Regions from separate parts of the Homo sapiens genome. Here all the other regions are linked to region 1. The links are contacts of gene promoters, found by promoter capture Hi-C in blood cells and fetal thymus (Javierre and others, 2016). All regions are on one chromosome and are shown on one strand. Each heading gives the region's core, a stretch centred on a gene start or on the middle of the fragment in contact. The rest is flanking DNA. Distances are from core to core; before and after follow the strand shown. Region 1 holds the start of NR6A1 (nuclear receptor subfamily 6 group A member 1). Region 2 overlaps GAPVD1 (GTPase activating protein and VPS9 domains 1). Region 3 has its middle 120 kb from the start of GAPVD1.

Evidence for each region. Contacts are between HindIII fragments. The CHiCAGO score rates a contact against its expected background, and 5 or more counts as called.
Region 2: a fragment that was not itself captured here is called in contact with the fragment with the promoter of NR6A1 in region 1 in 16 of 17 cell types (naive CD4 T cells, total CD4 T cells, total CD8 T cells and 13 more); the score reaches 16.8 in naive CD4 T cells.
Region 3: a contact is called between a fragment that was not itself captured here and the fragment with the promoter of NR6A1 in region 1, in 9 of 17 cell types (total CD4 T cells, naive CD8 T cells, endothelial precursors and 6 more). The highest score is 7.9, in total CD4 T cells.

The regions. Positions count from the first base shown.
Region 1 is chr9:124,768,610-124,773,070 of GRCh38, forward strand. It overlaps NR6A1 (nuclear receptor subfamily 6 group A member 1), which reads right to left and starts at 2,702. Exons shown (of 10, transcript NM_033334.4): 1 at 2,411-2,702. The coding sequence starts at 2,510. LOC124900274 (a long non-coding RNA gene) reads right to left here and starts at 1,871. Exons shown (of 2, transcript XR_007061773.1): 1 at 1-1,871. LOC107987126 (a long non-coding RNA gene) reads left to right here and starts at 2,748. Exons shown (of 2, transcript XR_001746926.3): 1 at 2,748-3,164; 2 at 4,093-4,461. RefSeq lists silencers at 1,402-1,651, 2,192-2,771 and enhancers at 2,484-3,051, 2,842-3,101. The HindIII fragment of the contact is 3,513 bases long and covers 10-3,522 here.
Region 2 is chr9:125,363,597-125,368,409 of GRCh38, forward strand. It overlaps GAPVD1 (GTPase activating protein and VPS9 domains 1), which reads left to right. Exons shown (of 28, transcript NM_001282680.3): 28 at 1-3,611. Among named protein-coding and RNA genes, the nearest start is that of GAPVD1, 100 kb to the left of the region's middle. The HindIII fragment of the contact is 6,213 bases long and covers 386-4,813 here.
Region 3 is chr9:125,380,860-125,385,817 of GRCh38, forward strand. No RefSeq gene overlaps it. Among named protein-coding and RNA genes, the nearest start is that of GAPVD1, 120 kb to the left of the region's middle. The HindIII fragment of the contact is 8,564 bases long and covers 1-4,958 here.

The DNA of each region.
Region 1 (4,461 bases), core at 1,452-3,951:
CTAATGTAAAGCTTTAAAGCCACCTTAGTCTAAATGGATTGCTCGATAACATTCTTTCAAATGGTTCTGACCAATTGAGGAAATGAGACTATGAATGGGAAATCTGATTAAGAGTTAAAATTACCATTGAGTTCTTTAAAATGTACTAATGAATAATTAATAACAAATGCAGTTCTTAGGTTTCTCTTACAACACTATTATTCTCAAGTAGAATTGAAAGCAATATTGCAGTAAATATTGAATTGCAGTAAAATCCGTCATCTACATTATATGCACAGGTGGGTACAGGAAGTATTCACACATAGGAAGGCATCACAGAAATATACACGCTAATATGGGATATAAGATAGGTTGGGGTTTGGATTCAAAAAAATCAGCATGGGAAAATTTAGATCAGGATTTACAACACTCACAAATTAATACCAAACCAAATCTCCACACAAACTAGCTTAAAAAGTCAAAGGCATTAAAGAAATCCTTTGTTCCTATTATACTGTCTCCTTCTACCCTAACTGGATTCCAGCTTCCCCCTTTGTGACACGGAATTTTATTGATCTCAAACATGTTCACATTCAGAAATTAGTTGCCAACGACAGCCCACGGAACGGCCAGCCACCTAGCCATCATACATCATACACAAATTAAAAAAAAAAAAAAAAGAGCTCTGAAAACACATCATTATTTTTAAGATCAGCAACATCAAGTGAAGTTAACCAAGCTCTCTTCTACACGGACTTTTCCCTTTTGTAAAAAACACCAGATCTCCTGAACTAACAAAATGTTTGACTAGTTAATAAACGTATGAAGGCACGGATCCAACCCAAGATTTCCACCGTCTGTAGCTACTCACTCATTCAACAATTGAGCGCCTAACTGACCTATTTTCAGGTTACTTTCCTCACACCTGCCAGGTCACTGTCCTGATTGAGAAACCTCTTGGTGAAGCAGTTAATTTTTAGTGCCTCCTAACTGTCCCGGGTGTTTGCATTCAATTTGAAATCTGTTACTTGTTAGACACTGTTCGGTCCTAGATCTCTCAGAGAACTGCGAGTTTATGGCGCAGCGAGGGGAGGAGGCACTGATCTCTGAGAGCCTCCCTTTATTCGGAAATGAGGAGATGTGAAAGGTGGAAAACAGGGCAAATAAATAAATCGGGTTTGCCGCCGGAGCGTTTGCCGGCCGGTGCGAGCACCCTTTGTAATGCAGGCCTCCCGGGGCGATCGCCTGCGCTAATTGCTCCAGGGCGCTTTCCAAGTTCAAAAGTTCACCTTTTACGACCTCACAAAAGCTCCTAACACGTTACCAATAAAAACATTCCGCGGCAAACACCGAGGAGGAAAATATCAAACAGATACAAATAAAACACCCCGCAGGGGGAGGGAGCGAAGGGGAGGAGGGCGAGGAAGCCCCGAGGAACCTGAGGACCCGGCCCGGGCGAGGGGGCGAGGGACGAGCGGTAGGAAGGGCCGGGCCAGGTGAGGGATTCTCAGCTCCCAAGGTCCCGGATCGGGACAAGAAAGAGGAGAACTGAGACTAAGAGGTGGGGACCGGGACCTGCCGGGCAGAAGCCGGGAGGAGGCAGGTGTCCGGGGCCCCGGGGCGGGCTGGAGCCCTCGGCCAGGGAAAGCCGTTGCCTGGCGGAGAGGGGAGCTGAGCAGGGGCGGAGACCGGCCAGAGCGCGCGGGGCGTTGAGGAAGGTGAGGCGCAGGGGAAGCAGGAGGCGCGAAGGGGTCCGAAAAAGGAAACGACTGGGGGATGTCTAGCGAACGGGGGTTCGGCAGAGGTGGGGGGCTCGTAGTATTCAAGGAAGAACGCTCGAGGCTGCAGAAGAGGAAAACGCTCTAGAAAGCTGAGCGGTACAAGGGTGCTGTGGAGTCGGGTCAACAGGGCAAGAAGGGAGCGTCCTCGGTGGGAGGAGGAACCCCTGTAGGGGAAAAGAGAGGCTCTGCGTTAAGGGAACCCGAGTGAGGGGATGCCCCCACTGACGGACCGCGGTGGGGACTTCCAACCTGAGGAGCCCGGGGGGAGGGGAAGGTTCGGTGCTGGGAAGACAGGGGGAGGGGACCCGGGGGGAGGAGGGAGGATTGGTGCTGAGGGGACGGGGGGAGGGGAAGCCTGTGCAGAGGGGACGGGGGGAGGGGGAAATGAAGCTCGGTGCCCAGGGACCCGGGCAGGGGGAGGGTCCGCGCAGAAGGGAACAGGGACGAAGGAGGAGGATCCACCCTGAGCGAGACCGGGGAGGAGAGGGAGGGTCCGCGCCAACGGGGAACGGGGTGAAGGGCCACCCTAAGGGGCCGCGGGGCCGCTGCGGCTTCCCAGGGCGAGGGTCGGCAGAGAGGAGGGGGATCCCTGGCGGAGGCTCAGGAAGCCGGTTCCTGCCTGGCCCGGGCGTCGCAGGCCCCTCACCCACCGTTGCGCGGCGGCGGAGGGAGCGCGGCGGGAGGCTCCAGGAACCCCGCCGAGCCCCCGCCGCCTCCCCCTCCGCTAGGCGGCGGTTCGTCCCGCTCCATGCGGTGGTGCCTAGGGTCCGCGCCGGGTTTGTTGCTCCGCCATGACCGGCGCCCTAGTCGCCGTGGTCGTCGTCCGCCGAGGGGAGGAGGTTGTCAGGAGCCCGCGAGCTCCCGGCCGCGGCTCTCTCTGGGCCCCGAGCCGCCCGGCTCCGCGCCGCTCCGCGCCCCTCCGCGCCGCGCCCCCTCAGCACTGGCCAGCTCCCTCCCCTGACGTCACACGCCGCTGCCGCGCAAGGCCCTGCGGGGCACGCTGGAAGTTGGAGTCCGCTCAGCGAGGCCGGCCACGCCGACCGCACCAACTGAAGGGGTGGAAGGAGGGATAAGAAGTCCTGAGAAGGGAAAGCTAAAGTCTGTCAATATCAAGAACCATGACAAAGCGTTTGATGTCTATGTAGTAAGCGGATACTTCCGGGCCTTGTCTTGATTGTGATTTCTACCTGATCAAAGTTCCCTAAGAGTCCTCGTAACCCCCCACCCCAACAATGAGTCTTTGCGAGGAGGTGGATCGCGAGGCAGCCGGGTGAGCACGTGCAACGAAGCCCAGCCCTGTGGGCGGGGCCCTGGAGGCGGGGCTTGAAGGTACTCACGTGGGCCTCTCCCTGCCGCTGCGGGACAAATTGGACCGGAGATTAAAGGACCGGAGTTTAACTCGAGGTGACTGCGTTCGTATGCAAATGGAATATATAAAACTCTTCTTTCCGGGGTAGTCTTTAAAGACTTTTTACCTCCGGGTGGGCGGCAAAGACTAAAGTTTCCCCTCCTCCCCTTTCATTTTCCCCCTGCCCATAGAACAGATGGGCAAACTAAGCTCCGGGCCATTGGGGCTATTAAAGAAAGCCCTAGGCTCTTGACCCCAGGTGTCTTGAAACCTTCCGTTTAAGAGGGATCCCTTGCCCAGCCTTGTTTGCCTTCCCCTTTCCTCAGTTTCCCTATCTGTAAAAGGGGGTTGGAATAAGGACAGGATCAAGTTGGAAGATCGCAAACCCCTGCCCCTCCCACCTCAGTTTCCCGAAGCTTTCCGGAAGCAAAATCCCGAATTTTGCAGCGGCTCCCGGCCGAATCCACCCGCTGCGGCCACCAGGTGGCGCGCGGCCACCGGTCACTAGGCCCGCCGGGGTGTCCGTCTTCGGCGACCCCATCGGGAAAGGATTTCGCTGCTGCCGCCAAGGGTCTAAGGCCTACCTGGCCCACTTGAAGACAAAGAACGAGAACGTTGGTGCTTTGCCCACTTCTGCTCTGCCGGATTATGCTGCAGCTTCCTCGGTGGCCGCTCATTCGCCCTCTCCTGCCCCACCCGCCCCACCAATCCCTTAGCCCTTTTATTTTTTTTTTGCCTAATTTTAAGTCCTCGTCCTGGCATTCGCATCCCTGCTTGGCCTGACCCTTGCCCACATTTCGCACCATACCCCGTCCCTCACCTGCTACGAAAGTTGCAACGCTTCTCTGCACTTGGGGGCAACTGGACCTTACCAACCCTGGTGAAACTGTATTTCATACGTAATCTGGGAGACTTACATTAACGCTCTGCCGTCTAAACCTCATACCTGCTCTATGAGATAGCAACAATATTGTCCCTTTCCAGCACTGATGAAGTCCACCAGAAGTGATGGGGATTCCAGCTCCATTCTGTCACACACCAGAACCTTAATCCTTGGCTCCTTCAAGCTGGAACGCGGCTGACTTCACCTGACCCACTCCCAAACTCCTATTCATCTTTCAAGATCCTGTTCAAATGTTTCTTCAGTGGCATCTTCCTTAATACCTTCCACCGAGGGACAACTAGATCCCCTCTGCTAGGTAGCAGTGTTTCAGGAGCTAAACCCTGTGACTAAGAGAGGACGGCCTGCCATTCCCTCAGCTGTGGGTTCTAAAATACTTTAGGACCTTGCTGGGCGCCGTGGTTCATGCCTGTAATCCCCACACTTTGGGAGACTGAGGCGGGCGGATCACC
Region 2 (4,813 bases), core at 2,242-4,741, 600 kb after region 1:
AGCTCATACTTTATGGTGGTTCTTCTCCTCCGAAATAATATACTGCAGAAATCCCAGACAGAGCTCCTTACAAACCTTTAATTGTAATATATTTTTGATGATTATTCACATTGAATGCACAGACCAAGAATTCAGTGAATGTCATTTTTTAAAAAACTAATTTGTATTGTCTGCTCTAGTGATACAAGTTTTACTAGTGATAAACTATTTTAATCAACCATACTATTCTTATGGAAAAAAATATCTATTTTGGCAGGTTTCTGTGCCTTTATTTCCCTCTTCTGAAAAAAAGTCTGTGTTTTCATAGTTTGGTTTGCATTGTATATCAATAATTAATCAGGAATGGGTTTTGGTGCCTGAAAAATTGGCCATGGAGGCACACCAAAGCTTCAAGCACAAGTCTTGTACATGGGCCATCACTGTCTGGTTTCACTTCGTGTGTTTCCTAAACACATTTAGCTGCTTTTTTAACAAACTCAGCCCCATACTTGAGTCCCTTGTTGTTGGGAGCATTTCCAGGCATCTTTTAAGGGAACTGTGACAAACAGCCTCGGGCAGATGAACACGGAGGCTCTCTGTTGTCTGTCTCTGAGATCTTTGTGTCTGGGAATGCCTAAAGATTTTATTTTTTTTTCTTTGTTTTTATTTTATTTTATTTTATTTTTTTGAGACAGAGTCTCACCCTGTTGCCCAGGCTGGAGTGCAATGGTGCGATCTTGGCTCACTGCAACCTCCACCTCCCAGTTCAAGTGATTCCCCTGCCTCAGCCTCGCGAGTAGCTAGGACTACAGGCGCATGTCACCAAGCCCGGCTAATTTTTGTATTTTTAGTAGAAACGGGGTTTCACCATGTTGGCCAGGATGATCCTCAATCTCCTGACCTCGTGATCCACCCGCCTTGGCCTCCCAAAGTGCGGGATTACAAGCGTGAACCACCCTGCCCAGCCAGAAACTAGATTTTCTTTATGCCTCCACCCCTTCTTATTCATTTACTTTACAATACCAAAATAACAAATTGCATAGGAGTGTGGGATGTGGTTTCTGCCTTCTAGAGAGAGATCAGAATTAAACTAGTACTATGAAATGTCCTTTTGAATGTTAGGTCAAGAAATCCATGTACAGAGTCGTGCACTTCATTGGCTGTAACTGTCAAACTTGCCTTGTATTAGAAGTTAAATCCCATCGTAAATACATCACGAGGCCAGCTGTGTGATTTCTGAGACCTAGATGAGAGTCCATTTACTTCAGCCTTTGATTCAGTAAATGTTAAGCAGCAGAAGACTTCGAATGGTTGAAATTCATTGTTACAGGATTTAACTCATAAACCAATGAGAGATTTTTTTTTTCTCTGCAATGGTTGCTAAGTCTATTCCATGTTAACACTGTGGAAATAAATATGAAGATGTGGACATTGCATCGGGGCTCTTTTCTGTGGAAGAGAAGGTGGTGGGATTGGGGTGAAGGGCTACACTGGAGGCAGGAGATAGGGCTGTGCTGTGTTGGAGCCGGGGCTGAGGGTAGACCCCCCAGAGATTTGACATCTGTGACACCTGTGAAATGGGTTCGGGTGCTCATGACTCCATAGCTGGCGGAGGAGCACAGCACAGCTGTTGCAGGGGCAGCTAAGGTTTCCTCTGAAAATCTGTCAGGAGCAAGGACTACTTTGGCATTAACCATCACTGTTTGATTTCTTGACAGGTATGTGAGATGGGGAGTGATTTGATTTTTTTTTTTTTTTTTAATAGAAAAGAGGAATAGTTGTTCCCCAAATGTTTCTTCCTCCACTGCCTTCCAGTACTTTCTTTACATGAAAGATTAGTGTAAAAGTACAAAATCAGCCCAGGAAACATTCAGCAGCCACTAGTTACTACATAGAATTTATAAAGTGGATGTTAAATGGAGAGAGAGTTGGCTCAGGTCCCCTGAAATCTTGTAGGATTAACTTCTCTGAGGAAAAGAAAAATCAGGTTTGCATTTTGTATTAATATTCTGCTTTTAGAAGTAATAGAAATACAAGTTGAAGATTGTCTTTACTTACAAAATTATATTTTAATTTTTTTTGAGACATAGTCTTGCTCTGTCACCCAGTCTGGAGTGCAGTGCTGTGATCTCGGCTCACTGTAACCACCATCTCCCAGTCTCTAGTGATTCTCATGGCTCAGCCTCCCTGGTTGCTCAGATTACAAGTGTATGCCACCACACCCAGCTAATTTTTGTATTTTTTGTAGAGACAGGGTTTCGCCATGTTGGCCAGGCTGGTCTCGAACTCCTGGCCTCAAGTGATCCGCCTACCTCGGCTTCCCAAAGTGCTGGGATTATAGGCGTGAGCCACCGTGCCCAACCACAAAATTATATGTATATATATTTAAACGTGTCAAACATTTTGCTTTCTTTCTCCATTTTAGGTAAAATCTCAGCCACAGTAATTGCTTTCTTCTGCTTTTTCTTTATAAAAACCTGCTTATGAAGGCCTTCTGATACAGATAGTTAAATCGCTGTAGTAGGAGGCTCAGGTTTTCTAAGGGATTGCAAATGTGCTGCATGGTTTTTCTATTCCTATGTCCTGGAAGCCTTTGTTTAAAGTGGGCTTTACAAATGTGTCCCTGAGGTGCGTGAGCAAGAGAACAATCTCAGCCCCAATACGGGGGCTGTGTTCTTGCCGTAAGAATCTGTAGCTGACTGGTGTGCTGAACCCGGGCACTCTTTTTCCTATTGTTTGCCATGGAAATTTCCACTTTGGACCGAGTAAGGTCAACTAGGTGTTTTAAAATTGTTTTTCTCCTATGTGATTGGGTGTGAAGAGGGAAAGTAGGAATACACTCAGAATTATTACTGGATTGCATAAAAGTGATAGAAGTGTAGTGGGGTTCACTTCCTCAATTGGTGCTTCCTAGATTTTTCTCTCCCATCTCTTCCTGCTTTGTTTCTTTAAAGAAAAGGCTGTTGTCTCTCTTTTTAAATATTTAAGTCTAGTGAGTTTATTTTGTACGCAATTGCTTTAATTTTAAGGGAAGTAAATCTGAAACTATCTTGAAGCCCAAAGGATTTTTAGTAAGTGGATTAACAGTGATGAGGTATTTGCGATTACTTTAAATGCCAAAATGCTTGAGAACTTTGCCAGGTTAAAAATTACTTAATATATTTTAGAATGTAGGTTAGAAAGTAGTAGGACAAGGAATAGCTTTATTACTCTTGAGAACACTTGGATAAATGAAAATATAGTTTGCTTCCGTGTTAAGTTGTGGTTGAGCTATGGAGTGACCCTGGAGCTGCCGCATCCCACAGGCCTGAGCTCAGCAAGGGTTCAATTCAAGAGAGATGACGTCTCCACTTGGATAATGGCAGACAGTGTGGGTAGCGGCCATGCACTAGGGGAATTCACCTCTGTCAAATTAATACTCTCCTGTCTACTGGATTCTTCTTGTGCTTCACCTGGATTAAAAAGCTGTACTGCCTCTTTTGAAACAGATAAAACCTTTCTATAAGTCTCAATTAATGAGCTTGCACAATCTTGTATATGTACAGGAAACCCCTCCTGTCTCCTAATGTGATTAGTACTGTAAAATATTCTATAAAACTGATTAAAAGGGGAGAGCAGTTTGATTCACAGGGTTTTATGTTTCTGTCATCTATTTTATATTCAGAAGCATTTCTGAAAACGTATTTGACTTCCGAATGTTCTGATGTTCTCCGTGAATTCACACACATCTTTTTTATCTGAACAATAAGGGTGTTTGCTAAGTATGGCACAAGAAGGAACTAGAATGACCTGGCAGTAACTAACACAATGGTGAACATCTAAGGGTTTTTTTTTTTTTTTTTTTGAGACAGGGCCTGGCTCTGTCGCCCAGGCTGGAGTGCAGAGGCAGGATCTAGGGTCACTGCAAACTCTGCCTCCTGTTCTCAAAGATCCTCCAGCCTCAGCCTTCCCAGTAGCTGGGACAACAGGCATACGCTACCACACCTGACTAATATTTGTATTGTTTGTAGAGGCAGGGTTTTGCCATGTTGCCCAGTCTCCTGAGCTCAAGCGATCTGCCCGCCTCAACCTCCCAAAGTGCTGGGATTACAGGCGTGAGCCACTGCACCCAGACCTTCATCTATGGATTTAACAGTTTCTGCCTAATGCCTATATTTGGTAGCTATTTATCATTTTTCATTTTGAAAGCAAAAGTGTTGCCATCTAATCACAATATTCATTTAGGCCTTTATTAATCTTTCCAGCCAAGGGAAGTTACTTTTGACAAGGAGTACTAACTCATTCTTCAGGCTTCCCTTGCTGGTGAGAAGGCGCTTTTCTTATATTGATTGCACTTCATTTAGAAGGAAATAGTTAAAAACTTGCTTACGGCCCATTTCCATTTGCTCTGTTCAGTATTTTTTTTTTTTTTTTTGAGGCAGAGTTTTGCTCTTGTTACCCAGGCTGGAGTGCAATGGCTCGATTTTGGCTCACTGCAACCTTCGCTTCCCAGGTTCAAGCAGTTCTGCCTCAGCCTCCTGAGTAGCTGGAATACAGGCATGCGCCACCACGCCCAGCTGATTTTGTATTTTTAGTAGAGACGGGGTTTCGCCATATTGGTCAGGCTGGTCTCGAACCCCTGACCTCAGGTGATCCACCTGCCTCGGCCTCCCAAAGTGCTGAGATTACAGGTGTAAGCCACCGCACCCGGCCCACTCTTCAATATTAAAACGAGTGGTATGACGCCTAGAACCAAAAATAGCATTCAGCTTTTCTTGCCAACTTGGAATTTACCTGTGTCGCTTGGACTGCTGTTACGCTTGTACCCACTCAACCCTTTCCGCAAGTACAGGGC
Region 3 (4,958 bases), core at 2,056-4,555, 610 kb after region 1:
CCTGCTAATTTTTATATTTTTAGTAGAGACGGGGTTTCACCATGTTGACCAGGCTGGTCTCGAACTCCTGACCTCAAGTGATCTGCCTGCCTTGGCCTCCCAAAGTGCTGGGATTACAGGTGTGAGCCACCGCGCCCAGCCATGAAGGAGCATTTTCAAAGCCTCTGCAGGGGTTTGGAAGTACCTAGAAGGATGGTGACTGTCACAGCAGAGGGTCTGTGGCTTGGAGAAACAGTGCATTCCGGGGCCCAGTCCCTCAGGCGTCTGGAGAGCAGGCCAGCTGGGGGGCAGGAAGCTGAGTCCACTTCCACAGACCGATGGCAGCACCTCTGCTGGCCCGGGAGGAGCTCCACGCTCCCTGGACAATGAAAATATCCTTATGCGAATGCAGTCTCTCCACAGTCATTCTAGGTTTATGGGCAGGAATGCTGGCATTCCAGTCACCAACAACATGCCACAAACTGGGTGGCTTAAAACAACAGAAAATTATTCTTTCACTGGCCGGGGTCGGTGCCTCATGCCTGTAATCCCAGCATTTTGGGAAGCTGAGGTGGGCAGATCACTTGAGGTCAGGAGTTTGAGACCAACCTGGCCACCATGGTGAAACCCCGTCTCTACTAAAGATACGAAAATTAGCCGTGCATGGTGGTGGGCACCTGTAGTCCCAGCTACTTGGAAGACTGAGGCAGGAGAATTGCTTGAACCTGGGAGGCAGAGGTTGCAGTGAGCTGAGATCGTGCCGCTGCACTCCAGCCTGGGCAACACAGGCTCCATCTCAAAAAAAAAAAATGAAAAAAAAAGAAACTTATTCTTTCATAGTTCTGGGGACTGGAGTCTGAAATCAGGGTGTCAACAGGGCCGTGCTCCCTCTGAGACGCTAGGTGGGTCTTTCATGGCCTCTTAGCCTCTGGTGGTGGCCATCAACGCTTCGCGTTCCTTGGCCTGCAGCTGCCTCACTTCAGTCTCTGTCTCTTGTCACAAGGCCGTCTTCTTCCTATGGGCCTCTCTTCTTCTTATAAAGACATCAGTCAAACTGGATTATGGCCCACCCTAAGGACCTCATTTTAACTTGATTACATCTGCAAAGACCCTATTTCCAGCTAAAGCCACATTCCCAGGTATTCACTGCATTATCATAGCGATGTTTTTATTTAATTTAATTAATGTATTTTATTTTATTTTATTTTATTTTATTTTATTTTATTTTATTTTGAGACAGTCTTGTTCTGTCGCTCAGGCTGGAGTGCAGTGGTGTGATCTCAGCTCACTGCAACCTCGGCCTCCTGGGTTCAAGTGATTCTCCTGCCTCAGCCTCCTGAGTAGCTGGGACTGCAGGCGCCCGCCACCATGCCCAGATAATTTTTGTAGTTTTAGTAGAGATGAGTTTTCACCATGTTGGTCAGGCTGGTCTTGAACTCCTGACCTCAGGTGATCCACTGGCCTTGGCCTCCCAAAGTGTTGGAATTACAGGCATGAGCCACCACACCTGGGCCTTACCTATTTTTATTTTATTTATTTATTTTTTTGAGACGGAGTCTCACTCTGTCACCCAGGCTGGAGTGCAGTGGTGCAATCTCTGCTCACTGCAAGCTCTGCCTCCCGGGTTCACGCCATTCTCCTGATTCTCCTGCCTCAGTCTCCTGAGTAGCTGGGACTACAGGTGCCCGCCACCATGCCCGGCTAATTTTTAAAATATTTTTAGTAGACACAGGGTTTCACCGTCTTAGCCAGGATGGTCTTGATCTCCTGACCTCATGATCTGCCCCCCTCAGCCTCCCAAAGTGCTGGGATTACAGGCGTGAGCCACTGTGCCTGGCTGTCCTTAACTATTTTTAAATTGGGTTGCTTGGTTTCTTTGTTGCTGAGTTATAGGAGTTCTTTATATATTCTGGATAGTACCCCGTATCAGATATATGATTTGGAAATGTCTTCCCCTATTCTGCAGGTTGTCTTTTTACTTTCTGGAAAATTTTCTTTTTTTTTTTTTTTTGAGACAGAGTCTCACTCTGTTGCACAGTGGTGCGATCTTGGCTCATTGCAGCCTCTGACTCCTGGGTTCAAGCGATTCTCGTGCCTCAGCCACAGGAGCAGCTGAGATTACAGGCATGCGCCACCATGCCTGGCTAATTTTAGTATTTTTAATAGAGACGAGGTTTCACCATATTGGCCAGGCTGGTCTCAAACTCCTGACCTCAAGTGATCCAGCCACCTCGGCCTCCCAAAGTGTTGGAATTACAGGCAGGAGCCACTGCACCTGGCCACCAATTTTTTTCTTTGTGCTTTTGGTATTGTAGCAAAGAAACCCAAGGTCACAAGGGTTTTCTTCTGTATTTTCTTCTAGAAGTTTTGTAGTTTTAGGTTTTACATTTATGTCCATGAGCTTCTTGGATCTGTTATTTGATGTCTTTCATTAATTTTGGAAAATTTATGGCGTTTTATAATTTTTTACTTTTATTAATATAGAGATGGGGTCTCGCTATGTTGACCAGGCTGGTCTCAATGTCCTGGCCTCAAGCGACCCTCACATCTCAGCCTCCTACAGTGCTAGGATTACAGGCATGAGCCACTGCTCCTGGCCTGGCGTTTTAAATTTAAATATTTCTTCCATCCATCTGATCCTTTTCTTCTTCTGGGATTCTAATTACATATATTTTTTAAGACTGTTTTATATTGTCTCCTAACTTTAGGATGCTCTGTTCTGTTTCTGTGTTTTTTTCCCTCCCCTATTTTTTTCTTCTTTTTTTTCCTTAGAGACAGGGTCTCACTCTGTCACCTAAGCTGGAATGCAGGGGCACAATCATAGCTCTCTGTGGTCTCAAACTCTTGGGCCCCAATGATCCTATGGCCTTGGCCTCCCAAGTAGCCAGGACTACAGACATGCACCACCATGCCCGGCTAATTTTTAAAAATTGTTTTGTATAGATACAGGGTCTCACGATGTTGCCCAGGCTGGTCTCAAGCTCCCGGCCTGTAGCAATCCTCCTACCTCAGCCTCCTAAAGTGCTGGGATTACAGGCATAAGCCACTGCTCGTGGCCTAGGTTCACTGATTACTTCCCCAGCTATGCTGAGTCTTTTGATGAGCCTGTCAACATCATTCTCTTTTACTGTGACTTTCATTTCTAGCATTTTATTTATTCTTTCCTATAGTTTCCATCTCTTTAATGAAATTCCCCAACTGTGGGTACATGCTACTCACCTTTTCTCCCATTGCCTTTAACATATTAATCATAATTATTAAAATTCCCTAAAAGTTCCAACATCTGGGTCATATCTCAGTCTGATTTTGTTGATTGCTTTATCCCTTGACGGTGTGTTGCTTTTCTTGCTTCTTTGTGTGTCTCGTATTTTTTTGATTGAAAGCTGGGATCTTGTATAGGATAGTAGAGACTGAGGTAAATAGCATTTACACCTGAAAATGGGCTTACTTCTTCTATTTTTTTTTTAAGCAGTGTTTTGCTCTGTTGCCCAGGCTGAAGTGCAGTGGTACAATCACAGCTCACTGCAGCCTTGAACTCCTGAGCTCAAGTAATCTGCTGCCTCAGCCTCCTGAGTAGCTGGAACTACAGGCATATTCCACGTGCCTGGCTAATTTATTTATATTTTGTAGAGACAGGGTCTTGCTATGTTGCCCAGGCTGGTCTTGAACTCCTGGCCTCAGGTGGTCCTTCTACCTCAGCCTCCCAAAACACAGCTGCATGGCATAGAGATGGGGCCATCACATGGTGAAACCCCATCTCTGCTGAAAATACAAAAATTAGCTGGGCATGGTGGCGGGCGGCTGTAATCCCAGCTACTTGGGTGGCTGAGGCAGGAGAATCGCTTGAACCTGGGAGGCGGAGGTTGCAGTAAGCTGAGATTGCGCCACTGTACTCCAGCCTGGGCGACAGAGCAGGACTGTCAAAAAAAAAAAAAACACCAAAAAACAACAGGTGTGAGCCCCTGTGCCTGGTTAATGCTGCTGCTTTTGCCAGGCCCTTCAGGTAGGGAGCTGGTCAGTCTAGCCAGGAGTTAAGCTGGCTTTGGGGTTTGGTGTTGCTCTGTTGCCCTCAGGGCCCCACAGTTCTCTAGCATCACTTTGCTTAACTAACAACATCGAGCATCTCCTCATGTGCTTATTTACCATACATGTATCTTCTTTGATGTAATGTATTAGTCAAATCTTTTTTTTTTTTTTCTTTTTTGAGACAGGATCTTGACCTCTTGGTCTCAAGTGATCCTCCAGCCTCCCAAAGTGCTGGGATGGCAGGTGTGAGCCACCACACCCAGCCTATTCAAATCTTTTGCCCATTTTTCTTTCTCAGATTGCTTGACATTCCTCTAATATCACTAAGTGTTTAGAGTGGGGCCTGACTTGCTAGAAGGTTTTTTCCCAATGTCCGATCCACTCTCAGTTTTTTTTTTTTTTTTTCTTTTTGAGATGGAGTCTCGCTCTGTCACCCAGGCTGGAGTACAGTGGCGTGATCTCGGCTCACTGCAACCTCTGCCTCCTGGGTTCAAGCAATTCTCCTGCCTCAGCCTCCTGAGTAGCTGGGATTACAGGCACGTGCCACCACGTCTGGCTAATGTTTTGTATTTTTAGTGGAGACGGGGTTTCACCATGTTGGCTAGGCTGGTCTCGAACTCCTGATCTCGGCCTCCCAAAGTGCTGGAATTACAAGAGTGAGCCACCGCACCCAGCCTACCCTCAGTTTTAGGTCTTCTCTTTGCATTTGCTCCCAAGAGAGCATCTCTCCCTGCATTCTTGCCTTTCCCCCAGCAGTAGACCCACAACTGTAACTTGTTATTAGTGATTTTAAGCCTTTTTTATGTTTTTTTTTTTTTTTTTTTTTTTTGCGGGGATGTTGGCGAGCTGGAATGGCATTCTCCATTATTCTGGGTCAGCTCCAGTTTTAGGCAGGAGCTGGGTCTCAGAGCTCCTTCTCCTCCCCCAGTAGCAGATGAGATCTAATAGTCTGA